Regions from separate parts of the Homo sapiens genome. Here regions 2 and 3 are each linked to region 1. Evidence: promoter capture Hi-C in human tissues and cell types (Jung and others, 2019). All regions are on one chromosome and are shown on one strand. Each heading gives the region's core, a stretch centred on a gene start or on the middle of the fragment in contact. The rest is flanking DNA. Distances are from core to core; before and after follow the strand shown.

The links. Contacts are between HindIII fragments. The study calls those that stand out against the background at their distance.
Region 2: a fragment that was not itself captured here is called in contact with the fragment with the promoter of DNAJC1 in region 1 in 1 of the 25 tissues and cell types used here (aorta).
Region 3: a contact is called between a fragment that was not itself captured here and the fragment with the promoter of DNAJC1 in region 1, in 1 of the 25 tissues and cell types used here (dorsolateral prefrontal cortex).

The regions. Positions count from the first base shown.
Region 1 is chr10:22,000,880-22,005,558 of GRCh38, forward strand. It overlaps DNAJC1 (DnaJ heat shock protein family (Hsp40) member C1), which reads right to left and starts at 2,851. Exons shown (of 12, transcript NM_022365.4): 1 at 2,334-2,851. The coding sequence starts at 2,555. RefSeq lists a silencer at 2,485-2,854 and enhancers at 2,515-3,015, 2,895-2,944, 2,975-3,104. The HindIII fragment of the contact is 11,297 bases long and covers 1-4,679 here.
Region 2 is chr10:23,121,913-23,126,591 of GRCh38, forward strand. It overlaps MSRB2 (methionine sulfoxide reductase B2), which reads left to right. Exons shown (of 5, transcript NM_012228.4): 5 at 1-101. Among named protein-coding and RNA genes, the nearest start is that of MSRB2, 29 kb to the left of the region's middle. The HindIII fragment of the contact is 3,578 bases long and covers 143-3,720 here.
Region 3 is chr10:23,024,480-23,029,158 of GRCh38, forward strand. The region is part of intron 16 of ARMC3 (armadillo repeat containing 3); the gene reads left to right. The region is part of intron 2 of LOC107984215 (a long non-coding RNA gene); the gene reads right to left. Among named protein-coding and RNA genes, the nearest start is that of MSRB2, 69 kb to the right of the region's middle. The HindIII fragment of the contact is 9,456 bases long and covers 1-4,679 here.

The DNA of each region.
Region 1 (4,679 bases), core at 1,601-4,100:
GAATTGTGAGAAATCAAGTTCTCCTGTTGAAAAGCTGTCCAGTTCATGGCATTTTGCTATGGCAGCCCAAATGGCCTACAACACAACAATTACCCACATGGCTTACTCCCTAACTTCTCTCAGAGGCCTGCTCTGACCATATAACATTTATATTTACTTACTTGGCTGTTTACTGTCTGTTTCTCCCTACTGAATTATAAGCTTAGGGGTTTTGTTTTATATAAAGGTCAACTCCCAATGCTTAAAATCCAATAGGCACCAAACAAATCTCTGTTGCGTGAACAAGAAGAGATTAGTGCACAGAGCCAGGTCACCACTTTCAGCAGCCTACCTACTTTGTTCTGGTCCCTCATGTTTGGCTAGTCACCAAATGGCTCTGGCTTGAAAACTACACATGAAAGACCCTGGACAGGTTGCATTTGTCTCCACCAAATTTCTGGTCCCTGAAAGTCATCTAACAAAGTTAAGATTCAATGTAAAGAAAAAAACTTGTTCCATTCAGTTTCTCTGCTTGGACAGAATAAAATTCCTCCTGGCATTCTTTCCAATTTTAATACAGCTGGATAGAGAAACACAGGTTAAAACAATTTTCTGGATCCTTCTTTTCGGATTCTACCTTGACAAAGAATCTTCTTGATTATCTATGCTTCTTTATTTTCTCATCTTTGCCCAGAGAGTCAAGTGCTCTGGTTGTTCACACTGCCTAATTAACTATGCAAATCAAGTTACATGAAATTATAAATGAAAATTCTATGAGTGTTCACATGCAAAGCTAGATTACATGATCTAAATTTTAAACTGCTACTAAATTTCTGTTCTCTTAAAGGCACTTAATTTTTCATGAATAACTGGATCTTCAAGATTTCTGGATAGATTATGTTTAAGACTCTCTTTACGTACAGAATGTAATCAATGATAAATTCTAATTATTCCCAGTATTAAAGTAGTTCTTAAAAGTCATCAGAGCTTCACTAATTATTTTTACACATACTCCATCATTTGCTTTGAAAATGAGATATATAGTGTATCTATAAGCAGGGAGGGGCACCAGGCAACAGATCATAAATATAGTTATTACAAAGTTGCTTGCACATATGAATCTGAAGTGTGAAATGCCTATACTTTATAACTCTTACAAAAATAAAAAATTGTTTCACTCATGGTACCCTGGCAACCCAGCAATTTTATATTCACTGATGGAATGAAAATGCAATGTCTGAAAATTAAAATTCAGTAAAAGTTCAATAGTTCACCCACATTTATGATAACCTATGGGGGAAGGGGATGTGCATTTCATATCTAGTCATGTGAAGTGTGCCTTGAATGGCAACTATCGTAAACATTAATTTTTTACTCCCATAACTATTCAAAGCATTGTACGAAGGGCTCAATCAGATCGTGTGAAGTGTACATTTTTCACCCCATAAGCCTGAAATCAGCGAAATGTTATCTTCTCCTTCGCACAAGGCTTCAGGTAGAGACTGGATATCTACCCTCACTCAACCACCCTCAATGGTAGAACTAAAAAGCAACAAATGGATTTTACAAGTTAATGTCTTAAGCTATAGAAGAAAACGAAATGAAACAAAAGGAAAAGGGGAAAAAAAAACCCATTCCTACATTACTGACCGGGGGCTTCTCTTCCAATCGCATCCCAAGTCCTTTGCTGCTCAAAAAACTTAACACCTCCAACCTGGTTAGACGCTTCAAATTCCTCCAGATTTCTAAACTGCGAAAGCGAAACAAACATCTACCTAACAGGCTAAAAAGATGACGAAGTACAAAGTAAGAAAAACTTTTGCAACACAGACACTGGCCACAGTGCATTCCTACTTTCCCAGAAGGGAAGAGGAGGGGAGGCAGCTGAAATAAGAATAAGGATGAGGTAAGTATCGGTGGAAGATGACAGTTTAGGGTGAGAAGCGGCTGCTCTTTCTCACATTCAGGGGGACAGGAAGGCAAAAGGTAGGTGTTAAATTAAAAAAAAAAAAAAGTCTACCCACACCACTCTTCGTTCTTCCTCCAGCACAGCTGGAGGGGGAAGGCTCTTCCCCAGAACGCCGGAGCAGAGAGAAGGCATCGCCACCCTAGGCTAGTGGCGCCGTCCAGCCTGTCACTGGGGCTGGGACTAGAAAAGTTGAAGCAGGAGTAAAGATCTGGGGAAGACGGACACGTCCTTCCAAGGCTGAGGACCCCGGTGACCCGAGCTGAGGGCAGCCAGAGCCCGGGGTGACCAAGCCCTGCCCTACGTGTCCGGCTGTCTCTGAGGAACCGGGTCGCCTGACGCCTGCCCTGGCCCCTCTCCGCCCGGCCCCGCGCGCCTCCTTGCTTACCTGCTGCACCCCGAGGAACTGGTAGAAGTTGAGCTGCACCTCCTCCACTAAGTCAAACAACTCCAGGTCTCCGCTCTCCCAGCCGCGCGCCGGCGCCACGGCGGCCAGCAGCAGCAGCAGCAGCCACAGCAGCGGCGTCCGCGGCGGCGGCGGCGGGAACGGCACCAGCCCGAGCTGGCGGCGTCCAGGAAGCTGCGCCGGCTGGGAGCAAGGAGCCGTCATCGCGCTGGGCTCGGAAAGGTCACCCGCCGCGCAGCTCCGTTGGCCGAGAGCTGGGACGTGGCGGGCGGCGCTGGCTGTGGGGAACAGCGCCTGTCAGTGAAAAGCGCGGGCAGGCGCACCGGAGCGGCCCGCCAGGTGGCTGGCCCCAGACAGAGCGCGGAGGCGGCGGGAGCCGGCTGCCGGACGGGCGGGTGGGTAGGCGGGCGGGGCCGCAGCCAGCGCTACGTTCCGAAGACCCTCGCCCCCAGGCCTACACACAGCTGTAGAGGCAGCGCCCGGCGCCTGGGCTGCACAGTGGGTGAGGCTTCCCTTCGCCTCAGCCTATCCCAGGCCTCGCTTCCGGTGACATCATGTCTCCTAGCAACCGCGGGAAGGGGGCGTGGCCGGAAGCCTGGACGCCTGGCGCCCCAGATCTGGGCCTGGGTGAAATGCCTCTCAATCACTGGCGCGCACGGAGCAGCTGTACCTGCGCCCACATGGGCTGAGAGACAGGGACGGTTATAGCCATCTCGCGTCCATCTGGAACGCCCCACGTGGACTTCCCCTGAAATAGCTACTGTCTTCCTCTCCCCTAGCTATCGAACACTAAAAGCATATTTGAAGCCTGATTAATTGATTATGGCTTCCATGCATTTAATTAGTCCATCAGCAAAGAAGACAGGACAAGTTGAACCAGGTTCTAAAAGGGGCAAATCTAGTAAGTAGAGAGAGGTAGAGCAGAAAAGGAATTGAAACCAAAACAAAAAGTATACTTCTAATTATGAATTAAGATTTACAGGCATAATACCATAAAATGACCTGGTAGAATTAACAGTTAATAATGGTGACTCAATCATAGTTGGAGGAGAAATGTAGTTTATCCACCTTAGCCCACCTCCAGTTGGGGTTCCTTTGAAAACAGACCTCAATTGAGATGTTTCTGTTTTAAAAGACAGGCTAAAAACCTCCTCTCCCATAACAATGTCTCACCTTCTAGTCTTGCATTGCTTCTGTTCAAGCTCTTTTCAAGTTATTTTCTCCACCACAATTCTCTTGTGTGGACTTTATTATTGTGTGCTTAGCACAATGCATAGCACATGAGAGCACTCAATTAGTTGAACTGAATCCTGTGACTACCTCCCTACCACCATTCCCCCTACCACAGATTTTTAGTTTATTTATTTATTTATTTAGAGACGGAGTTTTGCTCTTGTTGCACAGGCTGGAGTGCAATGACACCATCTCGGCTCACTGCAACCTCTGCCTCCCACGTTCAAGCAATTCTCCTGGCTCAGCCTCCCGAGTAGCTAGGATTACAGACTCCTGCCACCATGCCTGGCTAATTTTTTGTATTTTTAGTAGAGACGGGGTTTCACCGTGTAGGCCAGATTGGTCTCAAACTCCTGACCTCACATGATGTGATCTACCCACCTCAGCCTCCCAAACTGCTGGGATTACAGGCATGAGCCACCACCCCCAGCCTAGTTTATTTTTGGTTATATCAGTTTTCTTAAAGTGAACGTCATCTTTACCAAGTCCCTAAATTAGGTTACTGTTTATTCAATGAACAAAACATCGAAATAAGATGAAATTAATGATCTTAAGCACTACTTTTACATATTATAGTAACATTCATCTTTTCTCCTAATTTGATCATTAGATTAAGTGCAATAAAACCTTTGAAACTGGTGCCATATTGCCACAAATCTGGGATTCTTACCCCGATCTTGTAGCAGACAGCCTAGTATTTCCCTTTTGAGTTTTACCTTTATGTTGTCTGAGAACCTCGGGGACTTACTCCATCTAAAGATAGCCCATCCTCTTTCTAAGGCCATGCTGAAACAGAATTGGATTCTATTAATAATACTTCTCATGGACATAAGGTATTACTCAAAAATTCATGCTGCCCAGCTCCAATGACACTTGTCCACCCTGAGATGATCTTCTTGCTTGTCCAGGTTCCTGCAAAGACCACAGTGATATTCATATTTAGACTTCTAGCTTGGCCTCTTTACCTATTCAGTCATTGTCCCAAAAATTACAGTGCAATTGAATAAATCTTTTGCTGAGGTCTGAACTAAGGGAGTGACAGTATCCACTGTTTTCTTCCCTGGTGACATGTACTAATTCTGGGCATAGACTCAT
Region 2 (4,679 bases), core at 682-3,181, 1.1 Mb after region 1:
TTGGTTAGATTTCAATGATTATGAATAAATGTTCACCTTCATACCTTCTGGTTACAAAGCTAAACTTTAAAATGTCCAAATAAAATATTCACTAAAATTTATGTTTGCTTTTTGGCTAAGTCAATGAACATGCTCTTTTATAAAAAAAACTCTAGCCAGGCGTGGTGGCTCACACCTGCAATCCCAGCACTTTGGGAGGCCAAGGCAGGCGGATCACCTGAGGTCAGGAGTTTGAGACCAGCCTGACAAACATGGAGAAACTCCATCTCTACTAAAAATACCAAGTTAGCCGGGCATGGTGGCACATGCCTGTAATCCCAGCTACTTGGGAGGCTGAGGCAGGAGAATTGCTTGAACCCAGGAGGTGGAGGTTGCAGTGAGCCAAGATCACACCATTGCACTCCAGCCTGGGCAACAAGAGCAAAACTCCATCTCAAAAAAAAAAAAAAAAACAAAAACAAAAACCAAAAAACAAAAAACCTCTAAATTAAAAATGACAAATAAGAATTGGCTCACATGGTAGCAGGCATTTGGTTATACCAAGACTAATAGCAACTCAAGTATTTCACAAATCAAGAGTCTTGAATAATTTGTTACTGAAAGTATATAAATCATTCTCTTTGTGACTTTATGGGCAAAAAGGAAACTTGTTTATACTTTTTTTCTCTTTATGAACTTGTTATATATTATTTTACATTTCTTTTAGTAGCAACCATGGAAATTACAACATGCTTCCTTACTTGTTACCATCATATGTAAATTATTACTTATTTTGAGTTCTCCAGGAATGTTAGCCTTAGAACACTTTATTAACATCCTCTCACATTTTGTTTTACTATTCTCATGTATTTCATTTCACACACACTTTAAAGCCCCCAAACCATTATAATAATATACTAAAATATGTACGAATATATACTAATAATTAGTATATAATGAATCAGTATAAAATATATAATATACACTAATATGTATACTAATAAATATACACTAATATATAACATACTAATATATAATAATATATGTTTTTAGTATATGTGGTTGATACTCATTTATATTTACCTACATATTTGCCTCTTTTGTTGCTCTTTTATTTCTTCCTGCAATTCTGTGTTTCCCTGTGTGATTATTTTTCTTCTGCCTGAAGAACTTCTTTTTGTTTTTCTTTTTTTGTTTTTTTTTGTGAGATGGAGTCTCACTCTGTCGTCCAGGCTGGAGTGCAGTGGTGCGATCTCGGCTCACTGCAACTTCTGCCACCCCCGAGTTCAAAAGATTCTCCTGCCTCAGCCTCCTGAGAAGCTGGGATTACAGGCGCCTGCCACCGCATTCGGCTAATTTTTGTATTTTTAGTAGAGACGGGGTTTCACCATCTTGGCCAGGCTGGTCTTGAACTCCTGAGCCTGTGATCCACCCGCCTTGAACTCCCAAAGTGCTGGGATTACAGGCGTGAGTCACCGTGCCTGGCCGAACTTCTTTTATTTTTCCCATTAGTTCATATTTCCTAGTGATGATTTTTTTTCAGTTTTTGTTGGTGAGGAAACGTATTTATTCTCCTTTCATTCTGAGGAATATTTTCCCTGAGTATAGAGTTCTAATTTGGGGAATTAGAATTTTTTCCTCTACAGATAGCCAATTATCCCAGCACTGTTTACTGAAGACTTCCTTGAATTTCCTTGACATTTTTCAAAAAAATTAATTTCCATATTAGCATGGGTCTATTTCTGGACTCTCTATTCTGTTCCATTGATATATCTATTCCTATGGCATTTATACCACACTGTATTGATTATTATAGGTTTATAGCAAGTCTTGACATTATTATAGGTTTATAGCAAGTCTTGAAAATCTTATGGCATTTATACCACACTGTATTGAAATTATAGGTTTATAGCAAGTCTTGGCTAGTTGTTTTATGCTAAAACAATTTTGAAAAAAGAACACAATTGGAAAAACATAACCAAAACATGTGCATTTCCATATAAATTTTAGAATTTGCTTGGAAATTTCTACAAAAAGTCTTGCTGGAATTTTGATTGGTATTGCATTGATATATCAATCTGGGGAGAACTGGCATCTTAAAAATATTGAGTGTCCCAGTCCACCAGCCTGGTATGTTTCTCTGTTTATTTAAGTATGCTTTAGTTTTTCTTTAAATATTTTGTTGTTTTTACTATGTGGGTCTTGCACATATTTTGTTAAATTAATGCCAAAATATTTTAATTTTCTTAATACTGTCATAAATTGAATTGTTATTTACATTTTTATTTTCTATTCTTTCACTATATATAGAAATACAATTAATTTTTGTGTTTTGAACATGTATCCTGCAACTTTACTAAATTGACTTATATTAATCCTTGTAACTTTTTTCTGGATTTCTTAGAGCTTTGTACATACAAAATCATGTCTGCAAATAGGACAGTTTTACTTCTTCTTTCCAATTTGCCTTTTTCTTTTTCTTGCCTTATTCACTATCTGGGTCTTACAATACAAATTTAAATGCAAATAGTGAGAGTGGATATGCCTGCTTTGCTTTGTTTGTGATTTTAGGTAGAAAACATTAAATCTTCACCATTGAGTTTGATGTTAGCTGTAGATTTTTTTTATAACCTTAATTGGATGAGGAAGACTTCTATTCCTAGTTGTTGAGAGATTTAGTGATGAAAGAGTGTTGATTTTTATCAAATGTTTTTTCTGCATCCATTTAAATAATTATATGGTTCTTTTTCTGTTTTCTATTCATAGAGTAGATTATATTGATTGATTTTCTGATGTTAAGCCAACCTTGCATTCTGAGATAAACCCCACTTGGATATGATAGATAGTATTCTTTTTACATGTTATTGGTTCTTATTTGCTATATTTTGTTAGGAACTTTTTGTTTCTATGCTCATGAGTAATATTGCTCTGCAGTTCTATTATCTTGTGATGTATTTGATTTTCTAATAAAGGTAATGTTAGCCCCATAAAACGATCTGGGAAATGCTCCCTCCTCTTTTATATTTTGAAAACGTTGGTGTAAGATTGGCGTCATTTCTTCCTTAAATAACTGGTGGAATTCCCCAGTGAAGTGATCTAGATCTGGAGTTTTCTATGTGGGAAAGTTTTTATTATTAATTTAAATAGGGCTGCCAAATTTTCTTGAGGCAGTTTTGGTAAATTTGCTTTTTAAGCCGGGCAAGGTGGCTCACGCCTGTAATCCCATCACTTTGGGAGGCCGAGGCAGGCGGATCACGAGGTCAGGAGATCGAGACCATCCTGGCTAACACAGTGAAAACCCGTCTCTACTAAAAATACAAAAAAATTAGCCGGGCGTGGTGGCGGGTGCCTGTAATCCTAGCTACTCGGGAGGCTGAGGCAGGAGAATGGCATGAACCCGGGTGGCGGAGCTTGTGGTGAGCCGAGATCGCACCACTACACTCCAGCCTGAGCGACAAGAGCAAGACTCCGTCTCAAAAAAAAAAAAAAAAAAAAAAAAATTTGCTTTTTAAGTAGTATTTTATCTAGATCGTCAAGCTTATCAGCATGGAATTGTTCACAGTATGCCCTTCTTATTCTTTTCATGTCTGAAGGACGTGTAGAAAAACCCCTTCTTTCATTCCTAATGGGGATTTGTCTCCTCTGTTTTCTTCACTAGTCTGGCTACAGCTGGTCGGTTTTATTGAATTTATTTCAAAAACGTGGCTTTTGGTTTTATTGATTTTTCTCTACTTCTTTTTTTTTTTTTTTTTTTTTGAGATGGAGACTCACTCTGTCGCCCAGGCTGGAGTGCAGTGGCACGATCTCGGCTCACTGCAAGCTACGCCTCCCGGGTTCACGCCATTTATCTTTTCTATTTTATTGATTTTTACCCTTTATCCTTTCCTTCCTTTTGTTTACTTTGAGCATAACTTGGACTTATTTTTATAATTTCTTAAGGTGGAAGCTTAGATCACTGAGCTTTATTTTTAGACTTTGCTTCTTTTCCCATGTAGGCATTAAAGCTACATATTTCCCTATATGTTCTGTTTTACCCTACATCCCACAAATTTTGATATGCTTTCATTATCATAGGTATATGATATATTATCAACATATTTTCTAATATTACTTGTGACTCTTCTTTGATCTAGTGATTATTCAGAAGTATGTTGAAGTCCAGATATTTGAAATTTTCCTGGTTATCTCATTATTATTGAATTCCAGTTTAATCCTTTGTGGACAGAGAACATAGCCTGCGTGATTTTAAACTATTCAAATTTATTGAGTTGTGTTTTGTGGCCCAAAATATGGCCTATCTTGACAAACACACCAGGTGCACTTGAAAATAATGTGTATTCTGCCATTTTTGGTGAAGTGTTCTATAAATATCAAGTCAAGTTGGTTGATAATATTGTTCAAAACTTCTATGTCTTTACTCATTTTCTGGTCTAATTGTTCTAGTAGCTGCTAGGTAGAGATGTTAATATTTGCAGTGATGTTTGTGGAACTATCTCTTCTGCACTTTCATTCTGTCAGTTACTTGCTTCATGTATTTTTGCTTCATATATTGGATGCATACAAATTTCGACTGTTGTGTTGTCCTTGACAATAAGACTTTTATCATTATGGAGTAATGAAATTATATGATAATACATTTCTTATTGTGATATAATTGACAGAACATAAAATTTCATATAATATAAAATTCTCCACTTAAA
Region 3 (4,679 bases), core at 669-3,168, 1.0 Mb after region 1:
TCACATTTGATGATTGAAACAAAATGTATAACATCTTATACTCAAGACAATGATATTTTAAAGTAAAGGAAGTAAAGACACCTGAAAGGAGGTGAGGCTTCCATACTTTACTTGAAGCAGTAAAATGTGGATACCAGTACACTGTGATAAGCCATATTTGTACATTGTAATATCTACTGTAACCACTAAAAAACCTATACAAAAAGCTATGCTCAAAAAGCCATAAATAAGTCAAGATGGAATCCTAAAAACAATGTTCAAGTAACACACAAGAAGGCAAGAAAAGAAGAGCAGAGGAATAAAAACCAATTGAAAGACAGATTGGCAGAGTGGATAAGAAGTTATGATCCGACTGTATGCTGTTTAAATAAACTAACTTCAAATTCATTTGACATAGGTAGGCTGAAAGTAAAAGGATGGACAAAAATACCATGTAAACATTAACTTTTTATGGAGCAGGAGTGGGTTTTAAAATATCTTATAAATTAGACTACAGAGCAAAGAAAATTACTAGAAATAAAGAGGGACATTACATTAGTGATCAAATGAATTAACTTATGAGGAAGACATAATGATCTAATGTGTGTGAACCAAACAACAAAGCCTCAAAATAAATGAAGCAAAAAAAACCTGATAGCACTGAAAGGAGAATTTGACAACTTCACAATTATAATTGGGACTTCAACACTGCCCCCAACCCCCAGCAACTGGTAGAACTTCTAGGTGGAAAATTTGCAGGGATACAGAAGATTTCAGCAACAGCAGCAACCAACAAGATCTCATTGACATATGTAGAACACTCCAACAATAACAGCAGAATACACGTTTCATTAAAAGTGCATGTGAAAATTCACGAATACCCTGAGCCATAAAAAAAACCTCAGGAAATTTAAAATACTTGAAATTATACATAATATGTACAATAATCATGATAAATCAGATTATAAATTAATAACAGAAATACAACAAGAAAATCTCTAAACAAGTGAAAATTGAATGATGCACTTCTCAATAATCCATGGGACATAAAAGGACATCTCAAAAAAAATTAAGAACGTAGGACTGAAAGAAATTTAAAATAAAGCATATCAAAATTTGTGGGGCACACTTCAGGGAGTGTTGAGAGGAAAATCTATTGTACTAAATGCTTACATTAGAAACAAAAAGAGGTCTCAAATCAACAATCTGAGCTTCTACCTCAAGAAACTAGAAAAAGGAGAGCAAAACACTCCCAACACAAACAGAAAGAAGGAAATAATAAAGGTAAGAAATCAATGAAATTTAAAACAGAAACAATAGAGAAAATCAATGAAATAAAAATCTGTTTCTTTAAAAAGTTCAATAACTTGGGTAAACCTCTGCAAAGATGACAATTAATCAAAGACAGAGGACACAAATTGCCAAGACCAGGAATGAAAGAAGGAATTATTACTATAACCCCTCAACACACAATAAAGGATAATAGAGAAATGCTACAAGCAACTTAGTTCAGCAACTTAGATGCAATGAATGGACCAATTATTTATCAAAAACTACAAACTACCCGATCTCACCAAAGATGAAATAGACAACAGCCCTGTAACTATTAAATAAATTTAATTCATTAAAATTTTTTTCCAAAAAGAAATCTCTTGATCCAGATAGTTTCATTGGCAAATTTCACCAAACACTTAAAGAATTAACATCAATTGTACACAATTTTTTTCAGAAAATAGGAAAATAGAGGATACTTCTCAACTCACGATGATCTAATGCCAATCTATTTGCATTAGGTTACTCTAGTGCCAATACCAGACAAGGACATTACAAGAAAATTACAGATCAGTATTCCTCATGAACATAGATCCCTAAATCCTGTATGAAATACCAGCAAATCAAATTCAGCAGTATATACAAAGAATAATTTATCTGAGCAACTTGAGGGCTTTATCCTAGGAATGCAAGCCTGTGTCATGCTTGTCAATCAATGTAATCCATCATATTAGCAGTATAAAGAAGAAAAACCAACTTATATTAACTGACACAGAAAAAGCATTTGGCAAAATTCAACATCTACTTATGATGTTGATAGGATAAAAATAAAAATAAAACTGTTGAAAAAAGGCATAAAAGGTAATTGCCTCAACTTGATAAAAGCCATCTACAAAATAATCTACAGATCACATCATACTTAATGGTAAAAGACTGCAAACAATATCATAACTAGGATATTGACATTGATACAATCCAATCATTTTATTCAAGTTTATTTTTCTTCTACATGTGTATTTAGTTTTATACAATTTTATCACGTGTAGGTTTATGCCTCTACTAGCACAGTTAAGATAATGAATAGTTTCATCACCACGTGGACCCTCAAGTCGAATTGCCCCAGTACCATTTGTTAAAAAGACCATCCTTCTTCCATTGAATTGCTTTTGCACCTTTGTCAAAAATCAGTGGAGCATATTTTTTTGGTTTCTATTTCTTGGTCCTCAGTTCTGTTACATCCATCCATATGTCTATCCCTCTACTAGTATCACTCTGTCAGAATTACTGTAGCTATATAGTAAGCCTTACTATCAAATACAGTGATTCTTCCCACTTTATTTTTCTTTGTCAAGATTGATGTAGCTATCCTAAAATCCGTGCCTTTTCATATAAATTCTAGAATAAGATTTTCTATTATATGTCTAGAAAAAACCGCTGGGATATTGATAGGAATTGCATTAAAACCAGAGATCATTTTGGGGGAGAACTGACATCTTTAATAGTTACATCTTCAAATCCATGAACACAATACGTCTCATCATTTATCTAAGTCTTCTTTGATTGCTTTCCTTAGCATTTTTAATATTCAGCACATAGATCATGTAGGAATTCAACATGTTTTGCAAAGTTTATCTGTAAGTATTTTATTTGGAGCAATTGTAAATGCTTCAAACAGTTTTTTGGTTTTAATTTTGATTTGCACATGTTCCTTGTTACTTACTATATGAAACACAATTGGTTTTTGTGTGTTGATCTTATATCCTGACCCTTCGATGAACTCATTTATAGTAGTTTTTTTGGAGAATTCCTTGGGAGTTTCTACATAGACAGTCATGTCATCTGCTTTGTGTTTAGTTTTCAAGAGTTTGATTTTGATGTATCTGAGAGTAGATTTCTTTGGGTTTACCTTATTGGCATTCACTGAAATTCCTGACTGTGTAGATTTATGTTTTCAACCAAATTGAGGGAGCCATCTCAGCCTTTCCTTCTTTATTCAATGTGTTTTTTTCTATACTGTACCCTTTCTCTTCTCTGTCTGGGACTTTGATGACATCAATCTTAGACCTTTTTAATTGTACCACAGGTCCCTGAGTGTCTGTCAACTGTTTTTTTCAATCTTTTGTTTTCTATCCAGGCACGGTGGCTCAAACCTGTAATCGCAGCATTTTGGGAGGCCAAGGCAGGAGTTTCGCTTGAGCTCAGGAGTTGGAGACAAGCTTTGGCAACATAGTGAGACCTTGTCTTTACAAAAAAATAAAAAAATTAGCTAAGCATGGTGGCACACACCTGTGCTCCCAGCTACTCAGGAGGCTGAGGTGGGAGGATCACTTGAGCACTGGAAGTTTGAGGCTACAGTGAGAAGTGGTGGCAGCCAGTGCACCCCAGCCTGGGCAACAAGTGAAACCCTGTCTCAAAAACAAACAAAGAACAACAACAACAACAATTTTGTTCTGGGTGTTGTTCAGATTGGATGATTTTTATTGTTCTATCTTCAACATTGGCTAGTTCCTCTTTTATCTTCATTATGCTATTAAACCCATTTAGGTAGTTATGTTCTTTTAAACTTTTAATTACGTATTTCTCAGTTCCAAAATTATATTTTTATGTCTTCTATTTATTTCTAAGATTTTTATACTTCATTTCAAGAGTATTTGATCTTACTTCTTGAAGCATTTTTAAAGTCTTTGTGTAATCAACATCTGGGTCATCTAGGCAGTGGTGTCTATTGATTGTCTTATCCTATATGAGTTGAGATTTTCTTGGTTCTTCACATAATGAGTAATTTTAGATTATAATAAGTTATAAGTCCTAAGAGTCTTATTTATGGGTTTTATTTACATTCTAAGAATATTCCTTTTGGGTGTGTTTTAGCAGACAATTGACTAAGTTGAGTTCAGGCTTCCAATTCCAACCAGGCTTCTGTGGATTGTCATTCCCATGTCAGTTGAATTTTCAAAGTCTTTGCAGTGCTATTTGGATTGGTTCTGCATGTATGCCAACCAGTATCCACTTTGGGACTTGGATAGCAGTCTATCCAGTAGTTCAGTTTTCAAAGTCTATGTATGTGCTGTTGAGGGTCAAGCCATGTATGCACAACTCAGGATAAGCCTAGGAATTTATAAATAAATAACTTATGGGGTTGCTTTTCTGAGCTCCTTCTTTTCCATAATCTTCCTTGCTTTTTCTGATTCTTTGGGGACTTCCCTTTAGGTCCTCCAGCCAGAAAACTTTATTTACCTTGATCTACTGCACTCTTGACATGACTGCACCCATATCTACAGCCAAATAGCAGAAGGTCTGAGGTAGTATAAAGCAATTTTAGGCTCTTATAGGATCCTAGTGCCACCAGTGCCACCACTGTCACAGGATTCCTTATGGGCTTAGAATGCACAAGAATGAAGAAAAATTAGAAAGAACAAAAATTAAAA